2 separate regions of the Homo sapiens genome follow, and region 1 is linked to region 2. Evidence: promoter capture Hi-C in 16 types of primary human blood cells and fetal thymus (Javierre and others, 2016). All regions are on one chromosome and are shown on one strand. Each heading gives the region's core, a stretch centred on a gene start or on the middle of the fragment in contact. The rest is flanking DNA. Distances are from core to core; before and after follow the strand shown. Region 1 has its middle 21 kb from the start of BNIP5. Region 2 holds the start of ARMC12 (armadillo repeat containing 12).

The links. Contacts are between HindIII fragments. The CHiCAGO score rates a contact against its expected background, and 5 or more counts as called.
Region 1: a fragment that was not itself captured here is called in contact with the fragment with the promoter of ARMC12 in region 2 in 1 of 17 cell types (naive B cells); the score reaches 5.3 in naive B cells.

Annotation. Positions count from the first base shown.
Region 1 is chr6:36,355,958-36,360,054 of GRCh38, reverse strand. It overlaps a transcript of ETV7 not described here. Among named protein-coding and RNA genes, the nearest start is that of BNIP5, 21 kb to the right of the region's middle. The HindIII fragment of the contact is 245 bases long and covers 1,752-1,996 here.
Region 2 is chr6:35,734,994-35,739,241 of GRCh38, reverse strand. ARMC12 (armadillo repeat containing 12) reads right to left here and starts at 2,210. Exons shown (of 6, transcript NM_001286574.2): 1 at 1,971-2,210; 2 at 1,070-1,215; 3 at 724-858. The coding sequence starts at 2,133. LOC285847 (a long non-coding RNA gene) reads left to right here and starts at 2,295. Exons shown (of 10, transcript NR_027117.2): 1 at 2,295-2,401; 2 at 3,364-3,479; 3 at 3,878-4,162. RefSeq lists enhancers at 1-104, 713-1,321, 1,322-1,930. The HindIII fragment of the contact is 11,422 bases long and covers 764-4,248 here.

The DNA.
Region 1 (4,097 bases), core at 625-3,124, 620 kb before region 2:
TGGGCATGGTGGCACATGCCTGTAGTCCCAGCTACTTGGGAGGCTGAGGCAGGAGAATCACTTGAACCCGGGAGGTGGAGGCAGTGAGCCGAGATCGCGCCACTCACTCCAGCCTGGCATCAGAGTGAGACTCGGTCTCAAAAGAAAAAAAAAAAGGACTGAGGCTTCCTTAGTTTTCTACTGGCTTTAGTTACACCACCCTTCTAGGACTCACTTTCTACTTTTGTAAAATGAAAGACAACATCCTTTGCCCTGCTTAGCACATGGAGTTGAGAAATTTCAAATGAAATAATGCATTCATTTATTTAACATTCATTGAGCACCTACTGTAGGTTAAGCACTGTCTAGAAACAGGAATATTGTGGTGACCAGAACAGATAAATAAACAAATCAATACAGAATAAAATGGCAGGTGGTGATATGTACTATGAAGGAAAATAAAATAGAATCAAGTGAGAGGGGCCAAATTTAAATTGAGCTGTCAGAGATGTAAAAAACATGTGTAAGCAGGAACAAATCATCTTTACCTATGTCACTTTCTCTCCTGTAGTAGACTGTCCCCTTTCTTTCTTTTTTCTTTTTTTCTTTTTTCTTTTTTTTTTTGAGACTGAGTTTCGCTCTTGTTACCCAGGCTGGAGAGCAATGGTGCAATCTTGGCTCACCGCAACCTCCGCCTCCTAGGTTCAAGTGGTCCTCCTGCCTCAGCCTCCTGAGTAGCTGGGATCACAGGCGTGCACCACCACACCTGGCTAATTTTTGTATTTTTAGTAGAGACAGGGTTTCTCCATGTTGGTCAGGCTGGTCTTGAACTCTCGACCTCAGGTGATTTGCCCACCTTGGCCTCCCAAAGTGCTGGGATTATAGGTGTGAGCCACTTCGCCCAGCCTGTCCATCCCCTTTCTGTTTAATCTGCAGGTCACACCATGAAAGATGGACACTGTTGTTAGTTTGTTATGTGCAACCCAATGCAATCTTAATGGATATGAATAATGTAGACAGGCTGGGTGGAGAAGACCATCTTGGCCTAGAGCTGCCCCTCTCCCATCCTCTTCCTTTGGGGGAGCCATCAGCTAAGACCGAGATCACAAAGTCTCCTGAATAGACCTCAGTTCTCTAGATCTGGCCCATCTAAACATCCTAACTCAAGGAAGCACGGTGTATTGTTGAAAGTGCTCTGGCTGGAAAGCCCCAGAGTTCTAAATATGGCTCTTAAAATTCCAGCAATTCTGAGCAGGAAGAGCTTTCCCCTCAGTCACATGATCATATGCTCCAGCCAGTGACAAGCTCAGGTTCTCGACCTGTGGTGTGGGGTGGGGAGTACATATCAGATTCTCAGGGGACAGCTGATTGTGGGTGGCTGAACGTGGCGTGCAAATCTCTAGAGAGCTTCTAAAGCACCAACAAAGGCACTTTCTTCTCCACCACCCCCACAAGGGTCAGTGAGCTGACCCAGTGTTAGGGTTTGGGGGATGGGGAAACTGAACATCAGGGGGACCTTGAGATTCTGGGATTCTGGGCTTTCAGCCAGGGACCCTTCCAACCTTAGGAACAGAATATGCCAACTCTAGCCCTCTGCAAACTCTAAAGTGATTTGCAATAAGAACATTATTTTTTCCTGACTGACCAGTGAGTAATTTACCAAGCTGGGTCTTGATTGGCCACCAAAAGAAAAAAGGGCCTTTGACAAAGCAGGAGACCTGAACTAGAGCCAGCAGCAGAAGGCCCCCAGTGAAATGACAGAAACAAAAGCTTGGCAGCTCAACCACATCTTTATTTTGAGCAAGATGAAGTGCCTTTCTGACAATGCAAATTAATTCACCCAGCTTTTAAGTGAGGAAGACATGTCCAGATCAAAGTCCAGCTTCCCTTCTAAGGAGGCCAGCCCTACGTCATCTGCAGCTACTGTATCAGTTAGAGTCATGCTGGCCATAGCATCTCAACTGAAATCTCAGTGGCTTGATGTGATAGACATTCATTTTCTTGGCCACATAAAGCTTGGTTCATGGGTGGGGAGGGATCTTCCCCATGAAGTCATCTGGGGACCCAGGCTGATGGAGGTTGTACTGTCTCCTTCATGTGGTTTCTGTATGGGGGATTGACACCCAGCCCGCAGGTAGGGAGGAGAAAGCGTGAAGGATTGGGGAGGTGTTTTTTTGTTTGTTTTTGTTTTTGTTTTTGAGACAGAATCTCACTCTGTCACCTGGGCTGGAGTGCAGTGGTACAATTTTGGCTCACTGCAACCTCCACCTACCAGGTTCAAGTGATTCTCATGCCTCAGCCTCCCGAGTAGCTGGGATTACAGGTGTGTGCCACCAAACTTGGCTAATTTTTTATATTTTTAGTAGAGATAGGGTTTTTCCATGTTGGCCAGGCTGGTCTCGAACTTCTGACCTCAGGTGATCTGCCTGCCTTGACCTCCCAAAGTGCTGGGATTACAGGCATGAGCCAGCGCACGTGGCCGGGGAGGTGTTCTTATGGGAGGCGCCCATCATTTCTGCCCATATTTGTTGTCAGAACTCAGGCTTGTGATATTCCACCTATATTCCTTGCTCCTTTTGAGTGACTTTTCCTCTTATTTACACCATTCTCCACCCCTCTTCATCCTGCTCTGTGGCCAGGAGACTGTCCTGTATGGATTGCCCCAGTGGGCTTCCTGTCCTCTGGCTCCTGGTTGGTTTTAGTCAAGAAACTCTCTGGTCGGAGATTGCCAAGGTATTTTATTTCTCTAGTCCCTCCCTGCTGGCTCCCACAGGTTGGCTGTGTTCTCCTACTTAAGGCTGCAGCTTCTGTGCGCTGCCCTCTCTGTGCAGCCATATCCTTTCCAAGCTGTGTCACTGCTCCTTCCCCTGGACCTTTTAGGCTTTCAGTTGAAATCTGTTCAACTGACATTCAGCAGCCCTCTCAGTGGCAAATGGTATCTTGATTTTCCTGAGATACCTGGCTCCCTACATGTAGATTAAAACATAGGTTTCTCCTTGTGGATCCAAAAAAAAGAGATAATTTGTAATGCACTGTCTGCCATATATCTTCTCCCAACTTCCCATCAAAACTCCATGCTGGCTTCCAATCCTTTACAGCTGCTTCTTTGCGTTATGGCATAGAACTTTGATGAATTAACCTGTGATGATGTTTTCACGGGTGGTGATGGGGTCCCGCAAATTTCCCTCCATAGTGTATCTCCACTTGATACACACATCTTCACAGGACAATGCCTTAATCCTTAGGAGAGACTGGCTGTGAAGTAATGCAGGTGTCAGCCCAGCATTCCATCTACCATCCTCCTGGTAATAACTTTGTCTCTGGGAGTAACTCTTTTCCTACTCCATCACAGTGTCCTGCCCCCAGCAGTTGGGGAGGGCCCTGTAGCCCAGGCTGGGCCATTAAGAGAAGCCCATTTCCGTGGCCACAGCAACTGGTCCAGATGGTGCATGATCCAGGATAGGCCAATCAGGGTCCTTCCCTGGGATTTCTCTTTCTGTGTCTGGCTGGGAAGTTACCCCAAGCTAGTGGCAGCTGTGTCTTCTGCCATGAGGGGACACCAGAGGGGCAGAAAGGTGAGGTGAAGTCCCTGGAGGGTCTGGTCTCCACTTCTAATCTTGGGGCTCTCGGAGCTGTCATGATCCCTGCAGATCTTTCTTCAATTCTTTTTAAAAAATTGATATATAATAGTTGTATATATGTTTGGGATACGTGTGTTTGTTTGTGTTTTTTTTTGTTTTTTTTTTTTTTTTGAGACAGGGTCTCACTCTTTTACCCAGGCTGGAGTGCAATGGTGCCATCATTGCTCATCATTGTTTCACTGTGTTGCCTAGGCTGGTCTCAAAACTCCTGAGCTCAATGCAATCCACCTGCCTTGGCTTCCCAAAGAGAAGGGATTACAGGCGTGAGCCACTGTGCCCAGCCACATGTGAAATTTTGATAGCTGTAATTGCTTCAATTCTTTGACAATCCCAATAGCTTTCGAATACATCTCCTTTTCACTTATGTTGGTTTGAGTTGTGGTTTCTGTCTTGCACAATTATGAAAGGTCTATTTCTTAAGGAGGTACAATTTTTAGTCAAGGGATTGTTTGATACTCTTTAAGTTCACTGCCAGGC
Region 2 (4,248 bases), core at 961-3,460:
CCTGTAACCGGTTACAGAAATAAAAACTCTCTTCCTCCCCAGTTCATCTGCATCTCGTTATTGGGCCAGGAGCAATAGCAGCCCAGCCCTCAGTTTGGTCCAGGAACAGGCCTGGAAGCTCCGCGCCCTGACACCCTGCCCTATGTGTCTCCTCCGTTTAGCTGTTCCTGAGTTGTGTCCTTTATATAAAAAACCAGTAATAGTAAGTAAAGTCCTTTCCTGAGTTCTGGGAGCCATTCTAGCAAATTAGTAGATCTAAAAAGGGAGTTGTGGGAACCCCCGAATTCATAGCGGGCCAGTCAGAAGTCAGACCTATGATTGGTACCTGAAGTCGGGGGGAAGTCTTGGGGGACTCAGCCCTTAACCTGTGAAGTCTGCCCTAACTATGGATAGTGTCTGAACTGAATTGAATTGTTGAACACCCAGCCAGTGTTGGGAATTGGTGTCAGAAAAAACGTGGCAGTGGTAGGGAGCTTGTGGGGTAGTGGGGGTCCTTCTCTTTGGGGTTGAGAGATACCACTAGTGCCTCAATTCAGTTTCATCCTGAAATTCAAAGGCCTTCATGACCCTGCTGGGAATCTGACCACCGTTTTCCCACTTATTTCTGGGTTACAAATTCACACCCAAACAAACTTCTGGAACATGACCATTTATCCTATGGCAATTAAAGGACTTAAGGACTATAGACATCCTGCATGCCCCACCACGCATCCCTGGGCTCACCTGGATTTTGAGCCTGAATTTTCTGATGCCAGAGAAAGCTTTAAGTGTATTCAGAGCTTGGGTTTTGACACTGTTGTCCTTGTCATCCAGCATGTAGCCCAGCAACACGATGTCATCCGTAGTACAAGCAGAGGCCTGGAGTATTGGGGAGAGATGGAAGAGGCAGGAGAAGCGGGTGTTCTGGGCCCACTGCCCCCCATGTCACCAAGATCCCTCCGCACACCCCCCCCCCACCGCTATCAGCCAGAGAGAGGTCCCAGGATATAGTCTGGCCATTCCAGGGGCAGGGATCGGCCGTAACCCCCAGGGGCCAGGCCGGCTAGGGGGGACCTCCTGCTTCCCTTACCTCAGCCTCCAGCAAGTACACACAGCGAGTGATACTGTGCAGGATCATGCTCTTGGCATACTCATCCTGTTTGCACTCCAAAGAGTTGAGGAGCCTCCGGAGCTCACCTGAGTCCCGCCCGTGCCGCTCTCGCTCGACTGCCAGGCCTAGACAGCCACCCCAGCCCAGTTCAGGCTGTGGACTCAGAAGTGATGAAAGAATGGGGTTGGGAAGTAGGGGACAGGGACTTGGGGACAAGGCTGCCTTGCCTTTTCGGAGAAGCCTTCTCGCCATATGCAGGACCACCATGTACAGTTGAACGAATGTTTACTGCACAAGGGCACCCTATCTAATGTTGTATTGTCCATAACGTACCATCATAGATTTGTCCATTTACTCTAACAACTGTCTGGCATATGGCGGTAACAAGTAGTATTTCATCATAACCAGTATGTGGCAATGATATTCCAGCAGATGGCAATAAAGAGTCTTGCAGAAGGGGCTCATTTTCCTACTCTGCACAAAAGAACATGTGGACTAGTGGAAGCTCTGGGCATATAGTAAGTCCTCCAATCTTCCCTTTCCTTAAAGCCTCACGTTCCTAGGGCAGAAAAGGGATGGGGGGAGCTGCCGACACCAAGTTTCCAAGAAGTGGAATCCTGGGAGCCAGAGGAAATGTAGTATTTGGAGACCTGCCAGATGAGTCTGAGGATCCACTTGAGTGAGATCCAGGGACCCTGAGCTAGCATCTCTGGCAGGGCCTTGCCTAGGACGCTGCAGGGTGGGCTTGAGGAAGATGGACAAGAGAAAGACAAAGGAAAGAGGAACTTGGAGGCATCACCTTTGGGCCCTCCCACAGCAGAGGCCTCGGGAGCAGGTGCCTCCTGGGGCAGAGCCCTCTCCCCAGGGCCCGGACACTCACGGGCGATGCAGATGGGTGAGTTGCTACAGAGGGGTGGTTTGCATTTTATGCCAGCCTTGATGGCCTTGTAGAGCAGGTAGATCGCCCCGGCGCCTGTGGCCAGGCTGACTACGCTTTTGCGGATGTCCAGTTGCCCCAGGTATTGGGGGATGCTCTTGCCCATGTCTTCAGTGTTGCCCTGGGCCCAGGTGAGAGCTAGGCCCAAGGCACCTGTGGGGGGCCTTCCGGAACCAGAACTCTGGCAGGGTCAGGAACCAGGGTACCAGAATTGGAACCTAGGCAACAAAGGAAACTGGGGAGATAATGGGATGGAGGGCAGTGGTCAGGAAATGGGGCAGCCAGGAGTGCTCGAGAACAGATGGGGCCAGGCACCATGGCCCACACTTGTAATCCCAGCACTTTGGGAGGCCAAGGCAGGCAGATCACTTGAGGTCAGCAGTTCGAGACCAGCCTGGCCAATATGGTGAAACCTTGTCTCTATTAAAAATACAAAAAAATTAGCCAGGCATTGTGGCGCACACATGTAATCCCAGCTACTCAGGGGACTGAGGCAGGAGAATCGCTTAAGCCTGGGAGGTTGAGGTTGCAGTGAGCTGACACGCCACTGTACTCCAACCTAAGCGACAGAGCAAGACTCCATTTCAAAAAAAAAAAGAGAAGGTTCTGCTTTAGAGACCACAGGAGATGAAGCATAAGACAGAAGGGGAATAAAAGGGGAGAGGGCAGAAGTGTCCTTCACATCTCCTCTTCTTTAAGGGGGGACCCCAGCAGGTAGCTCCAGAGGCTGCCTTTCCACCATTAGAGGGCAGCAGAGGTCCATTTCCGGGCTGGGGCCTTAGGGCATTTCTGGGTGAGGTGTTTGGGGTATGCCCATTGACAACCCTGTTCCTTTTCTTTCCGGGCCCTCCCATATGTGATCTCTCCACCCTAGATCTACCCCTGGGCCTTGGGGTGTTTCTTCAGGTAGGGTTCCCTCCCCGCATCAGAGGATGAAAAGGAGGGGAGTATCTTAGAAAGCATGCACAGACTCTTGAGGCAAATCCACCCTTTTCCAGCATCTGCATGTTGCCCTGAAGTTTACCTGTTTGACAAAGTGCTCTTGAGGACAGCTACCTTTGCATCTCCAGCATAGAATCTTGTACTTAGCAGGTGGTTTAAGTCATGTTCTGCCATTCTTTAAGGACTTGGCGGCAGAACAATGACAGCATCTAGTAACTGGGGCTCCAGACCCTTCTAACCAGAGTGACCTTGGAGGAGAAAGGGATCGCCTTTGCCTTAGTCTGTTTCTGCATTTGTAACCTAAAGGGATTCGGATTTACCATTCTAAAACTCCAGGATTAAAATGTGGGTAAGTCTGTGCCTTTCAGCTAAATTTGGAAGTATCACCTCTCAGCCTCCCCAGGGATATGAGGCGGCTTGTGAGGTCCTCTGGAGTCAGAAGATGCCACCACCCCAGAGGATGTGAGCCCACCTGTGGAGGTCTTGATCCCCACCACTAGGATGGGGCAGGTGAGACCAGACCCTTCCCTCTTCCCCACCAGGGTCTCCCCGCAACTTCTGTCCCCACTCTCTGTTGCAGAACAGGCAAGTGGCCAGCTCCAAACTAGGGCCACGCCCACAGCCAGTGCTGAGCATGCTGCACCAGAACAGGTGTTCACCTACCTGGCCCTGATCCCTTTTTGGGAGAACTGGGACAGAAGGCTCTGGGTCCTGGGCTGCACCCAGGATGGAAGGAGGTAGGGAAACAGCATCTCCAATGATGCTGCGGCCAGCCAGGCCTGCCCACTCAGAGCCTTGGCCCAGTACACCCTAGGCAGCAGGCAGGGAACAAGCAACACTCCTGGGTGGCCATTCTATTCCTGTCCTCAGCCCTCCTCAAGGGTCATCATTCCTGGCACTCTATTTAGCCCCAAGGTGGGTGACTACATGAACTCCCTGTGGTGAGGGGTGAGTAGAAGCCCATGGAAGCCTCCCCACTGCCATGCAACCCCATCGCATCTCCACTGAACTCCGAGCAGAAAACGGCTGCCTGATGGGAACTGTCATTTAGGTTCCCAGGCTACTTTGGTGGATCTGAGAATAAATCCCTCAAGACAAGGTCCTTGCTCTGCCCTTCTCCAGGGTGGGACCCAGAGTTACTGGCCCCTCCATCCCATGGAGCCGATTCTGCAACCCTCACTTCCTAAGCACAGGTAAGGCTCACCTGTTCTTTAAAGACCTCCAAAAAGTGTTCTTTCTTGGCTGCAACCTAACTCCCTCCTGCCACACCTAAGGCCCA